Linked DNA regions of Homo sapiens: region 2 is linked to region 1. Evidence: promoter capture Hi-C in 16 types of primary human blood cells and fetal thymus (Javierre and others, 2016). All regions are on one chromosome and are shown on one strand. Each heading gives the region's core, a stretch centred on a gene start or on the middle of the fragment in contact. The rest is flanking DNA. Distances are from core to core; before and after follow the strand shown. Region 1 holds the start of HOOK2 (hook microtubule tethering protein 2). Region 2 overlaps GET3 (guided entry of tail-anchored proteins factor 3, ATPase).

What was found. Contacts are between HindIII fragments. The CHiCAGO score rates a contact against its expected background, and 5 or more counts as called.
Region 2: a contact is called between a fragment that was not itself captured here and the fragment with the promoter of HOOK2 in region 1, in 1 of 17 cell types (erythroblasts). The highest score is 8.9, in erythroblasts.

Annotation. Positions count from the first base shown.
Region 1 is chr19:12,769,764-12,776,801 of GRCh38, reverse strand. HOOK2 (hook microtubule tethering protein 2) reads left to right here and starts at 1,250. Exons shown (of 23, transcript NM_013312.3): 1 at 1,250-1,397; 2 at 1,905-1,990; 3 at 2,061-2,133; 4 at 3,758-3,808; 5 at 3,890-4,022; 6 at 4,122-4,189; 7 at 4,550-4,612; 8 at 5,325-5,405; 9 at 5,483-5,643; 10 at 5,730-5,870; 11 at 6,720-6,921. The coding sequence starts at 1,353. RefSeq lists silencers at 1,187-1,406, 6,819-7,038, a cis regulatory region at 791-1,432 and enhancers at 969-1,647, 1,648-2,328, 4,859-5,359, 5,360-5,860. The HindIII fragment of the contact is 30,934 bases long and covers 1-7,038 here.
Region 2 is chr19:12,737,936-12,744,973 of GRCh38, reverse strand. GET3 (guided entry of tail-anchored proteins factor 3, ATPase) reads right to left here. Exons shown (of 7, transcript NM_004317.4): 2 at 6,316-6,463. Among named protein-coding and RNA genes, the nearest start is that of GET3, 4.0 kb to the right of the region's middle. The HindIII fragment of the contact is 4,185 bases long and covers 1,940-6,124 here.

The sequences.
Region 1 (7,038 bases), core at 1-2,500:
ATCACGGCTCACTGCAGTCTCGACCTCCTGGGCTCAAGCTATCCTCCCACCTCAGCCTCTGTAGAGCTAGGAGCTAGGACCACAGAAACACGCCAACATGTCTGGCTAATTTTTTTTTTTTTTTTTTTGAGGAGTCTTGCACTGTTGCCCCCTGGAGTGCAGTGGTACGATCTCGGCTGACTGCAACCTCCGCCTCCAGGGTTCAAGCGATTCTCCTGCCTCAGCCTCCCGAGTAGCTGAAATCAGGCGTGCGCCACCACGCCCAGCTAATTTTTAGTATTTTTAGTAGAGACGGGGTTTCACCATGTTGGCCAGGCTGGTCTCGAACACCTGACCTCGTGATCCGCCCGCCTCGGCCTCCCAAAGTGCTGGGATTACAGGCGTGAGCCACCGCTACCTGGGTAATTTTTAAATTTTTTGAAGAGAGGCTGGTCTCCAACTTCTATCCAAATTAATTCTCCCTCCTAGGCCTCCCAAAATACTGGGATTACAGTCGAGAGCCACCGCGTCCGGCGGGAAAACCCCTTTAGCATCCCCTCTCCCAGTCCATAGAAAGTGCCAGGGCTCGCCCCTCCCCGCACAACGGCTCCGATTATAAAGTGGTTAGACACAAGAATTTACTTAAGGCCGGGCGCGGTGGCTCACGCCTGTAATCCCAGCACTTTGGGAGGCCGAGGCGGGCGGATCACGAGGTCAGGAGATCGAGACCATCCTGGCTAACACGGTGAAACCCCGTCTCTACTAAAAATACAAAAAATTAGCCGGGCGAGGTGGCGGGCGCCTGTAGTCCCAGCTACTCGGGAGGCTGAGGCAGGAGAATGGCGTGAACCCCAGGGGGCGGAGCCTGCAGTGAGCCGAGATTGCGCCACTGCACTCCAGCCTGGGCGACAGCGAGACTCCGTCTCAAAAAAAAAAAAAAAAAAAAAAAGAATTTACTTAAGTTGCAGGGAAAAGACGTGAATGCGCTTGTGTAACAGGGTGGAGCACCTCCGTCTCAAAAGGATCTTGAGGACCTCCCACCCCAAAAAGGGCCAGGGCGAGGATGGGAGGTGGGACCACCCTCGGATGCACAAGGCTGGGCCAGGCTGACCCCTAGCGGCAGGGCGGGCGCCCGAACGGTGCCCGGATCCAAGATGGCGGGGCTGGAGGCAAGAGCGGGCGTAGGGAGGAGATTACGTTCCGAGGCGGAGCCTGGGCTTGGGGGCGGGGCGGGGCCTGCGCCTAGGGGGGCGGGGCGGGGCGGCGCTCTAGGCCGAGCGGGAGGTCGGGGCTGCGGGCGCTCGCTGGTGGCGGACCCGGAGGCTGCTGCGGCGCCGGGGCTCCGTGGCCTGGATTGAATCCGATCGGGAGCCATGAGCGTGGACAAAGCTGAGCTATGCGGGTCTCTGCTCACCTGGGTAGGTCGTGGGGCGGGGCTAGGGGAAGGTGAGCGCCCGCTCCTCTTGCCCGGGATCCCTGGCCCTGGTTCGGTCAGTCTCTTGGTGCTGGGGCTGGGAGGTGCGGGGTCGTCGACTTGCTGGACCGTTGGACTCTGGCCCGAGCACCCGCCCCCGTCACGTGGCAAGTCTGCGTGGAAAGGACAGGTGAGGCCCCGCCCCTCTGTGGTTGGTTCACGTGGGGCGAGGACACAGGTGAATTGGCCTGGTCACGTGGTGCCTGTGGGGCCCAGGTGACTCGCGATACCACCCTGGCCTGGACGCGCAGGGTTTGTTGGGCAGAGGTGAGGTGAGGCCACGCCCCCTCCGGTCTCAGGTGAGCAGAAGCCAGTCCCTCGCAGAGCTGCTGTGGCGGAGCAGCGCCCGCCCCACCATGTGAGGTTCGCTGACTGGAAAAGTCTGCAAAAGGGGAGCGGTTCGGCGCTCCCAGGCCCTAACTCTTTCCTTGTCCTTTCCTTTACCCCTCAGTTACAGACGTTCCACGTTCCGTCTCCCTGTGCCAGCCCTCAGGACCTGAGCAGCGGCCTTGCCGTAGCCTATGTGCTGAACCAGATGTGAGTGGAGCTGAAGGGGAGGATCCCAAAAGTGTCCCCCAGTCTGCTCATCCCACCTTCTCGCCCCCAGAGACCCCTCCTGGTTCAACGAGGCATGGCTCCAGGGCATCTCGGAAGATCCAGGTCCCAACTGGAAGCTGAAGGTGACAAGTGGACTCCTGATTAGAGGACAGACTGGTGAAGAGATGACCAGGGACGGGCCAGCTAGGCACATGTCCTGGGTGATGGGCAGGAAGAGGGACAGATGTCTGGTGATCAACCATTTGTTCATCCATTCATCTATGGAGTACTCACCCTGTGCCAGGCCTGGGCATTCAGCAAGGAATAACACAGACAAAAACCTGCCCCACACAGCCATCATTCTAGTGACAAGCAACACATACACAACCATAAAAATTAACTTCCAGGCTGGGCGCAGTGGCTCATGCCTGTAATCCCAACACTTTGAGAGGCTAAAGTGGGTGGATCACCTGGGGCCAGGAGTTCAAGACCAGCCTGGCCAACAAGTTGAAACCCCATCTCTACTAAAAATACAAAAATTAGCTGGGTGGGGTGGTGTGCACCTGTAATCCCAGTTACTTGGGAGGCTGAGACATGAGAATCACTTGAACCTGGGAGGTGGAGGATGCAGTGAGCTGAGATTGAGCCATTGCACTCCAGCCTGGGCAACAGAGCGAGACTCTTGTCTCAAGAAGAAGAAAAAAAGAAAAAGAAAAAGAAAAAGAAAAAACTTTTGATGCCAGTAGTTCTGTGAAGACAACAAAAAAGCAGGGCTTTGAGAGAGAGCAATGAGGGCATAGGTGGCTGATTACATCAGATGGGTTAATCTCCAAGTGAAATTTGGGGGAACGGTGTTCCAGGCATAGGGAATAGCAGATGTAAAGGCCGTGATTTGGGAATAAACTTGGTGTGATGGAGGAATGGCAGAGAGGGCAGAACAGAGCAAGAGGGCAAGATTTGTAGGAGATGAGGTCATCAGGGGCCTGGCAGGCCATGGTGGGGGTGTGGATTCTATTTTTAAGTGCTGTGGAAAGTCAAGGCAGGGTTTTAGCAGAGCAAAGATGCAACCTGGCTTGGGCTTTATAAAGCTCCCCCTGGCTGCATGGAGAGAAATAAAATGTAGGCAGCAAAAGTGGAAGAGGAGAGGCAGCTGGTGCACTAATCCAGGTGAGAGGTAAAGATGGATGGGTAGGGCTGAAGGATGGTGGGGCAGGTGGTGAGAAGTGACTTGGTTCTGGAGACATATGAAGGAAGATGGTCAGGCAGGCCGGGCACAGTGGCTCATGCCTGTAATCCCAGCAATTTTAGAGGCTGAGGTGGGAGGATTGCTTGAGCTCAGGAGCTTGAGACCAGCCTGGGCTACATAGCAAAACCTCCTCTCTACAAATAAAAAAAAGTAGTCGATTGTGGTGGCATATGCCTGTAGTCCCAGCTACTGGGAGGCAGAGATAGGAGGATTGCTTGACCCCAGGAGGTCGAGGCTGCAGTGAGCCAAGATTGCACCACTGCACTCCAGCCTGGGTGACAGAGCCAGACCCTGTCTTAAAAAGCTAAAGCAAAAAAAAAAAAAAAAAAAAAAAGAAACAAAGATGGTCAGGCAGACAAAAGGGGCAGACAGCCAGACAGGTCACCCCTAGAGGAAGGCGCACGCAGACAGAATAGGATGAGATGAGCAGGGAAGGAGAAGTGAGGTGGAGAGAGGATGGGACCTACAGATTCAGAGTGGGAGGCCTCTGAACTTGTCCACAGTTCCTTGTTCCTCCCTAGGTCAGCAATCTGAAGATGGTCTTACGGAGCCTAGTAGAGTACTCCCAGGATGTGAGTAACTGTAAAGGGATTCAGGGGGTTGAGTTGGGAGAAGGGTGGGCCCATGAGCCCCTGACACCCCCTTCTCCCCAGGTCCTGGCGCATCCTGTGTCAGAAGAGCATCTCCCAGATGTGAGCCTCATTGGAGAGTTCTCAGACCCGGCAGAGCTCGGCAAGCTGCTTCAGCTGGTGCTGGGCTGTGCCATCAGTTGCGAGAAAAAGCAGGGTATGGGGAGCTTAGGGGGTCCCCAGGGCTGGCCTGAGGAAATCCTCCTTCCTCCCCACCTCACCCCTGGGTCTCAGCCTCCCCCACCTTGATCCCCAGACCACATCCAGAGAATCATGACGCTGGAAGAATCGGTTCAGCATGTGGTGATGGAAGCCATCCAAGAGGTGGGTGGGGGCACTCAGTGTGCAATTGGAAAATGTCAGGAGAGGGGACATCTCTAGGGCAGAGAGAACTGGGCACAGGTCCTGCCCTGGTAAGGTCTGGACTCTGCCTGGAACTCAGCTGGCCAGACATCTCTGTCTCATGTGTCTGCCAGCTCCTCCCAGCTCTAAGTCGCAATCTAGCAGGCTCAAGGGATCTGGCTTCCCTCTGTGTTGGAGGCAGGAGGGCAGCCTCTGGGCTGGGGTTATTGGGCAGAACTGGCCTTGACGGGAGGATGGAGAGGTTCTCAGGTTGGATAGTAGATACTTTGAAGGCTGGCCTCAGATATCCAGTTCATTACAATGCCCCTTCCCACTCCTCAGCTCATGACCAAAGACACTCCTGACTCCCTGTCACCAGAGACGTATGGCAACTTTGACAGCCAGGTAAGAGATTTGGGGGAAAGGTGTTCCAGGCACAGGGATCAGCAAATCCAAAGGCCGGGAGTTGGGGATAAGTTTGCTGTGATTAACCTTGTGACTTAACCTTGTTAAAGGTCCAGACCCCACTTACAGATGCTCAGGGTAGCCTAAGGGGGAGGGGCTTGTCCTTAAGCCTGTAAGCCACGCCCATCTTCCAGGGTGCTAGCCACTTCCTGTACCAGGTCTCCAGTGTTCTGGAATCGCTCTTCCTTCAGTCTCCAACCCCAGCCCTGTTTTCTTTTCTTTTCTTTTTCTTTTTTTTTTTTTTTTTTGAGATGGAGTCTCACTCTGTCACCCAGGCTGGAGTGCAGTGGCACGATCTCGGCTCACTGCAACCTCCGCCTCCCGGGTTCAAGCGATTCTCCTGCCTCAGCCTCCCGAGTAGCCAGGACTACAGGCACACGCCACCACACCCGGCTAATTTTTGTGTTTTTAGTAGAGAAGGGGTTCGCCACGTTGGGCAGGCTGGTCTGGAACTCCTGATCTCAGGTAACCCACCCGCCTCAGCCTCCCAAAGTGCTGGGATTATAGGCGCGAGCCACTGCACCCGGCGCCAGCCCTCTTTTCAATCCTGAGGGTTTCTTGGCCCCCTCCATTTGGCCTCTAGAGATCTCAGCCTCCCTCCCCCCGTCCTTCTCCTGAATCCCTGAGTTCCTCTTCCCCCTCATCTCTGCAGTCCCGCAGGTACTATTTCCTAAGTGAGGAGGCTGAGGAGGGGGACGAATTACAGCAGCGCTGTCTGGATCTGGAGCGGCAGGTAGGGCCCTAGGTGGGGCAGGGTCACTTGAGTAGCCCCTCTCCAAGCCCAAGCTCATCTTTCTGCCCTGCCCGCAGCTGATGCTCCTGTCAGAGGAGAAGCAGAGCCTGGCGCAAGAGAATGCAGGGCTGCGGGAGCGGATGGGCCGGCCTGAAGGCGAGGGTACCCCAGGTCTCACTGCCAAGAAGCTGCTGCTGCTGCAATCCCAGCTGGAGCAGTTGCAGGAGGAGAACTTCAGGTGTGGTCAGCTGGGGACTGGGCCAGGCAAGCCAGGGGACCGGGGGAGGGCAGCCCCCTCATGTGCTCTTCCCCCAACACCCCCAGGCTGGAGAGTGGCAGGGAGGATGAGCGCCTGCGCTGTGCCGAGCTGGAGAGGGAGGTTGCGGAGCTGCAGCACCGGAACCAGGCGCTGACTAGCCTGGCCCAGGAGGCACAGGCCCTGAAGGATGAGATGGATGAACTACGGTGAGTGGTGGGTTCCTGGGTCCCCATCACGGGGGGCGGGGGGTAAACCTGTTTCCAGAGTTCCCCTCTGATGCCATAGCAGCTCTGTAATTTTCATGTGCCCAGTGAACCCCCAATATGCCCCCTGGACTCCACAGTGCCACCCTGAGCCCTACAGAACGCCCAAGGCCACATTGCACTATCCTGAATTCCACCATATCCCCTGGACCCCACACTGCCCCCCCCTTATCCCACAGTATGCTTCCAAGACCCCATAGCATCCCTGTGGCCCCCCAAAACACAAGAACCTCCCCTACAATGCTCTGCAGATCCCACTGCACAGTTTGGGCTTCATAATGCCCCTGGATCCCATGGTACCTTCTAGGACTCCACAATGCAATTACTTTGCACCCCCTTTTGACTCTACTGTGCCTTCTGTAACCACAAAGGGCTCCACTGGGCCCCTATAGCATCTCTGTAATGCGAAGGTACTAGTGCACCCCCCAATTGCACTTCTAAGGACCCCGCAGTCCTCTTGTCCCATACCTCCCCCAATGACTCCAAGGTATCCTTGGCAGATGCTCAGACCTCTCTAGGCTCCCCATCACTCCCCCTATAACCCCACCCTCTGTGTCCCCACAATTCCACCCCAGGGGATACCTGATTATAACCCTGGGCTAACCATTGCTGTAATGACTCTCAACAGCTCCAGGCCCTGATTGACCCCTAACCCTCAACTTTCATGACCCCTTCACCTTGAACCCAAAAGCCTCAGGCTGAACAACACCCTGTGCTCCAAGGGCCACTCCACATCCCAGCTGACCCCTGATCAGAGCTCTCAGCCCTCCCCCTTCCCTCCCACTCCCCTAGGCAGTCTTCGGAGCGTGCTGGGCAGCTGGAGGCCACGCTGACCAGTTGCCGGCGCCGCTTGGGCGAGCTGAGGGAGCTGCGGCGGCAGGTGCGGCAGCTGGAGGAACGCAACGCCGGCCACGCCGAGCGCACGCGACAACTGGAGGATGAGCTACGCCGAGCGGGCTCCCTGCGCGCCCAGCTGGAGGCGCAGCGGCGGCAGGTGCGGCGGGGGCGGGGTTAGGGCCGGGGCCCCGCCCCTGGCAGCAAGTCTCTCACCGTTGGCCAGCCCTCCGCCCACCCCTGATCCCCTCCCTTATTTGTACGTAGGCCACGCTCT
Region 2 (7,038 bases), core at 2,783-5,282, 35 kb after region 1:
AGATCCACCGACACCCCTGCCCTGCCTTCCTTTCTCCTTAAGGTTTAGCCCTTAGGAGCTGGGCAGGATAGCTCACGCCTGTAGTCCCAGGTACTCAGGAGAATGAGATGGGAGGATCGCTTGAGCCCAGGAGTTGGACACCAGCCTGGGCAATATAGCAAGACCTATCTGAAAAAAAAATTAGCCCTTCCTCACATCCCTCATGATTCCCTTATCATGTTTATCATCTGTCTCCATAGCAGGAATGTCTGCCCCTCAGGGGCAGGGGTTTTACCATCTAGTTCACTGCTGTGTCCTTAGCGCTTAGCATGAACAGTGCCTGGCACAGAGGTCGTCAGCACATATGGGGAATCCAGCCAGGCGCGGTACCTCATGCCTGTAATTCCAGCCCTTTGGGAAGCGGAGGCGGGCAGATCACCTGAGGTCGGGAGCTTGAGGCCAGCCTGGCCAACATGGTGAAACCCCGTCTCTACTAAAAATACAAAAATTAGCCATGCATAGTGGCGGGTGCCTATAATCCCAGCTACTCTGGAGGTTGAGGCAGGGGAATCGCTTGAACCCGGGAGGCAGAGGTTACAGTGAGCCGAGATCACGCCATTACACTCCAGCCTGGGTGACAGAGGGAGACTCTGTCTCAAAAAACAAACAACAAAACAAAACACAAACATGTATGTAGAATCTATGAAGGGATGGCCATGGCTGGGGTCCCTGGCCAGTCTCAGACTCAATGCCTCCCTCTTTTTTTTTTTTTTTTCCCGAGATGGAGTTTTGATCTTGTTGCCTAGGCTGGAGTGCAGTGGCGCGATCTCAGCTCATCACAACCTCCACCTTCTGGGTTCAAGCAATTCTCCTGCCTCAGCCTCCCGAGTAGCTGAGACTATAGGCATGCCCCACCATGCCTGGCTAATTTTTTTTTTTTTTTTTTTTTTTGAGATGGAGTCTTGGCCGGGCGTGGTGGCTCACGCCTGTAATCCCAGCACTTTGGGAGGCCGAGGCAGGCAGATCACCTGAGGTTAGGAGATCGAGACCATCCTGGCTAACACGGTGAAACCCCGTCTCTACTAAAAATACAAAAAATTAGCCGGGCGAGGTGGCGGGTGCCTGTAGTCCCAGCTACTTGGGAGGCTGAGGCAGGAGAATGGCATGAACCCCAGGGGGCGGAGCCTGCAGTGAGCTGAGATCACGCCACTGCACTCCAGCCTGGGCGACAGAGCGAGACTCCATCTCAAAAAAAAAAAAAAAAAAAAAAAAGAGATGGAGTCTCGCTCTGTCACCCAGGCTGGAGTGCAGTGAGTAGCTGGGACTACAGGCGCCCGCCACCACACCTGGCTAATTTTTTGTATTTTTAGTAGAGACGGGGTTTCACTGTGTTAGCCAGGATGGTGGCGATCTCCTGACCTCGTGATCCACCCACCTCGGCCTCCCAAAGTGCTGGGATTACAGGCACGAGCCATCACGCCTGGCCATGCCTGGCTAATTTTTGTAATTTTTTTTTTTTCTGAGATGGAGTTTCACTCTTGTTGTCTAGGCTGGACAATGGCGTGATCTTGGCTCACTGCAACCTCCGCCTCCAGGGTTCAAGTGATTCTCCTGCCTCAGCTTCCTGAGTAGCTGGGATTACAGGCATGCGCCACCACCCCAGCTAATTTTGTATTTTTAGTAGAGACGGGGCTTCTCTATGTTGGTCAGGCTGGTTTTCAACTCCCAACCTCAGGTGATCCACCCACCTCAGCCTCCCAAAATGCTGGGATTACAGGTATGAGCCACCATGCCCGGCCAATGCCTCCCTCTTTATCTTCCTCCTCTGTCACCTCTTCTTGGTAACTTCATGGGTCCCATGGGGAAGTACCCAACTCGCTGGCCTTAGGGGTCATTCCCTGTTGGGGAGCTTGCCCACTCATCACTGCACCCTCTTCTTATGCTTCATATATTTTAAGCTTCTTTGGACTACTTCATCCCCTCACCTGGCCCCTGTAAACTGTCAGTGTTCCTCTTGGCTGGCACCCTTATCCAGCCCAGCCTCCACAGGTTCCCTCTGCAAACACTCCCTTTCCCCTTGCTGTTGGCAAAATCCCCCACTCTGGTTACTTCCAGCTTTTTTTTTCTTTCTTTTAGAGATAGCGTCTTGGCCGGGCGCGGTAGCTCACACTTGTAATCCCAGTGTATTAGGAAGCCAAGCCAGGCAGATCATTTGAGGTCAGGAGATTGAAAACAGCCTGGCCAACATGTTGAAACCCCGTCTCTACTAAAAAAAAATACAGGCCAGGCGCGGTGGCTCACGCCTGTAATCCCAGCACTTTGGGAGGCCAAGGCGGGTGGATCACGAGGTCAGGAGATCGAGACCATCCTGGTTAACATGGTGAAACCCCGTCTCTACTAAAAATACTAAAAATTAGCCGGGCATGGTGGCATGCACCTGGAGTCCCAGCTACTCGGGAGGCTGAGGCAGGAGAATCACTTGAAATCGGGAGGAAGAGGTTGCAGTGAACCGAGATTGCGCCACTGCACTCCATCCTGGGCGACAGAATAAGACTCCGTCTCAAAACAAACAAAAAAAACCCCCCCAAAACAAAAATTAGCCGGATGTGGTGGCGGGCGCCTGTAATCACAGCTACTTGGGAGGCTGAGGCAGGAGAATCGCTTAAACTCAGGAGGTAGAGGTTGCAGTGAGCTGAGATCACACCACTGCACTCCAGCCTGGGTGACAGAGTGAAACTCAGTCTCAAAAAAAAAAAAAAAAAAGATACCATCTCATACATAGCTCATTGCAGCCTCAAACTCTTAGGCTCAAATGATCCTCCTGCCTCAACCTACCAACTTACTGGGACTATAGGCACACACCACCATGCCCAGCTAATTTTGTTTGTTTTTTGTAGAGAAAGGGTCTCCCTTTGTTGCCCAGGCTGGTCTTGAACTCCTGACCTCACGTGATCCTCTTGTCTCAGTCTCTGCAAGCACTGAAATGATAGGTATGGCTTTCTAGCTCTTTAGTATCACTGCACTTGAGGGCCGAACACTCCTGAAGAGTATTCCCATCTTGCTCCTCACCCTTTTGGAGACGGAGTCTCGCTCTGTCATCCAGGTTGGAGTACAGTGGCACAATCTCGACTCACTGTGACCTCCGCCTCCCAGGTTCAAGCAATTCTTTGCCTCAGCCTCCCGAGTATCTGGGATTACAGGCGCCCACCACCAGGCCCAACTAATTTTTTTTTTTTGAGATGGAGTGTCGCTCTGTATCCCAGGCTGGAGTGCAGTGGCATGATCTCGGCTCACTGCAACCTCCGTCTCCCAGGTTCAAGCAATTCTCCTGCCTCAGCCTCCCGTGTAACTGGGACTACAGGTGCCGGCCACCACGCAAGGCTAATTTTTGTATTTTTAGTAGAGACGGGGTTTCACCATATTGGTCAGGCTGGTCTCGAACTCCCGACCTCAGGTGATCTGCCCGCCTCAGCCTCCCAAAGTGCTGGGATTACAGGCGTGAGCCACCGTGCCTGGCTTATTTTTGTATTTTTTTTTTTGAGATGGAGTCTTGCTCTGTCACCCACGCTGGAGTGCAGTGGCGCGATCTAGGCTCACTGTAAGCTCCACCTCCCGCGTTCACGCCATTCTCCTGCCTCAGCCTCCCGAATAACTGGGATTAAAGGCACCCGCCATCACGCCCGGCTAACTTTTTGTATTTTTAGTAGAGATGGGGTTTCACCCTGTTAGCCAGGCTGGTCTCAATCTCCTGACTTTGTGATCCGCCCACCTCGGCCTCCCAGAGTGCTGGGATTACAGGCGTGAGCCACCATGCCCAGCTAATTTTTGTATTTTTAGTAGAGATGGAGTTCCACCATCTTGGCTAGGCTGGTCTTTAACTCCTGACCTTCTGATCCACCTGCCTCAGCCTCCCGAAGTGCTGGGATTACAGGCATGAGCCACCACGCCCGCCCTTGCTCCCCTCTTCTGAACACAAATCTCCAATGGGCACTTGATGATCCAGACAATTCTGGTTCCCCCTGCTACCTTAATAAGTGTTTATGTGGTATTTTCTCCCTCCTCAAACTTCTATCCCATTCACTGCTGAGACCCTTGCCTGTTCCTTGGTGAGAAAGAGAAGCCATTGGCTGCCAACACCCTCATCTCTGCCCGGGAAGTGCCCCAATTCCTCCTGTTTCCCTCCCAGTCCCTGACCCTGGCAGCGCCCAAGTTCTGGGTCTGTATGCTGGATGGAGCTCATCCCACCTGAGGACTGTCCTCTGCCAGCATCCTCACTCTGCAGCATCTCTTTATTTTATTTTATTTTTATTTATTATTTTTTGTTGAGTCTCGCTCCGTTGTTCAGGCTGTAAAGCAGTGGCGCGATCTCGGCTCACTGCAAGGTCCACTTCCCGCGTTCACGCCATTCTCCTGCCTCAGCCTCCGGAGTAGCTGGGACTACAGGTGCCCGCCACCATACCTGGCTAATTTTTTTGTATTTTTAGTAGAGATGAGGTTTCACCGTGTTAGCCAAGATGGTCTCAGTCTCTTGACCTTGTGATCTGCCCGCCTCAGCCTCCCAAAGTGCTGAGATTACAGATGTGAGCCACCGTGCCCGGCCTTTATTATTTTTTTGAGACAGAGTGTTGCTCTGTCGCCCAGGCTGGAGTGCAGTGGCGCGATCTCAGCTCACTGCAAGCTCCGCCTCCGGGGTTCACGCCACTCTCCTGCCTCAGCCTCCTGAGCAGCTGGGACTAAAGGCGCCTGCCACCATGCCCAGCTATTTTTTGTATTTTTAGTAGAGATGGGCTTTCACCGTGTTAGCCAGGAGGGTCTTGATCTCCTGACCTTGTGATCCACCCGCCTCGGTCTCCCACAGTGCTGGGATGACAGGAGTGAGCCACTGCGCCCAGCCAATTTTTTTTTTTTTTGAGACGTGAGAAAACCTCGTCTCTACTAAAAATACAAAAATTAGCCGGGCATGGTGGTAGGCACCTGTAATCCCAGCAACTCCGGAGGCTGAGGCAGGAGAATCTCTGCTTCCTGGGTTCTAGCGATTCTCCTACCTTAGCCTTCTGAGTAGCTGGTATTACAGGCACCTGCCACCATGCCCAGCTAATTGGTTTATATTTTTAGTAGTGATGGGGTTTCACCATGTTGGCCAGGCTGGTCTCAAACTCTTGACCTCAAGTGATCCGCCCACCTTGGCTTCTCAAAGTGCTAGGATTACAGGAATGAGCCACCATGCCCAGCCCTCACACAGCTTTAAATGCCACCCTTGAGACAGTGACTTCCAAATCAATGCCAACCTCCTCTGGGCTCCAGACTCACATAAACAAGCTACTGTCATGATGTTTACACTTGGATTTCCAGTGGGCAACTCAGATTCACTGTGGACAAAATGAAATTCTTTATTTGTTCATTCTAAACCTACTCCTTTCCTAGTTTTCCCCATCCCAGCTGCTCAGAGAGACAAGAAAGACATGTAATCAATTCATTTCTTTTTCTCACCCAAGTAATCTTACTGGTTTACTTCCAAAATACATCCCTGGTGCGATGTGGTGGCTCATGCCTGTAATCCCAGCACTGTGGGAGGCCGAGGCAGTCAGATCACTTGAGGTCAGGAGTTTGAGACCAGCCTGGCCAATATGGTGAAAACCTGTCTCCTAAAAAAAACAAAATTAACAGGCAGTGGTGGCGCAAGCCTGTAGTGCCAGCTACTCGGGAGGCTGAGGCAGGAGCATTGCTTGAACCTGGGAGGCGGAGGTTGCAGTCAGCCTAGATCGGGTTACTGCACTCCAGCCTGGGAGACAGAGGAGTCTTGAGTGTCTAAAAAAAAAAAAAACCTCAAGTCTGACTACTTCTCCCCCAACATTCTGCCTCCACCAGAGTCCAGGATGTTGTCATCTCTCAACTGGTTACACCCCCAATCTCCTTGTTAGTTTCCCTGCTTCTACCCTGACTGACAATTAAATCTCCACCTGGCCGTCAAAGGGTACTTTTCAAACATGAATTTGGCCACGACATTGCCCTGCTTAAAACAAACAGCTTCCCGTTAATAACCTGGAGTCAATGCCAAACTTCTTAGTGGCCCATAAGGTCCCACACCATGTGGCTCTGATTGGTCTCTCCAACTTCTCCTTCCCCTACCCTGGCTCACTAAGCTTCAGGCACTCTGGTGTGCTTCCTGCTCTGCAATTCCTCATTGGTTCCCTTGTGAGTATGTTGAGGAAGGAGTGAAACACGAGAGACACAGGATATAGAGTGGATAGGACACGGTGGCTGCTGGTGTGTGCGCACAAGAAAGGCTGGAAGAGGCTTTTCCCAGAAGTGGGGGCTAAGCCCTGTTCCACTCACCATAGCAAAGAGGTTGTCATAGCCTTTGACCTTGGTAGGCACCTTTGAGAACTTCTGGTCAAAAGCATCTGAGATGTTGTGTGCTGGGTCTGTGGAGATGATCAGAACACTCTCACGCCCCTTGGAGAGCTGGACTGCCAGGCTGCAGCTGAGTAATGGAAAAGTCAAAAGATAGGGGATGAGGGGATGGGCTCTGTTCCCTGGGTCTGCAAGGGGAGTGGTAGGTTCCCTGGAGCAGGTGACCCGAATCAGCAGGGGCCTTGAGAGGAGAGTATGGGTTATGGTGGGATTGAGCCTCAGTCCCTACAAAGGAACCCTCTCTGATTTATCTCCTGACCCCTCTATGTGGACTAGAGAGGTAAGGTTCAGCTGACTGAGTCTGTCTGGCCTAGTGCCTGCTTCTTTTTTGCTGGGCACAGTGGCATGGCCCAGCGGTCCAGCCAGCATAGCTTGACTCCGTGCCCCCTTCCTTAATAAGCTAAGGGGTCTCCTGCATTCCCTAGTAAGCACAGGATGGTTCAGTCTGCTTGTCCAGGATAATCTGTCCAACGGACACCTCCTGCCTGTAGCTGCCTGGGACAGTCTCATCACGTGCTCTCTCCCTCGCTTTCCACCCTCACTCTCGCCTTGGGCATAAAACACCAAGGTTCACCAAACTAGGATTGCTTGTTCTGGTGCCGCCCTCACCCACAACTCTGGATTCACTCAGGTACGGTCCAGCTG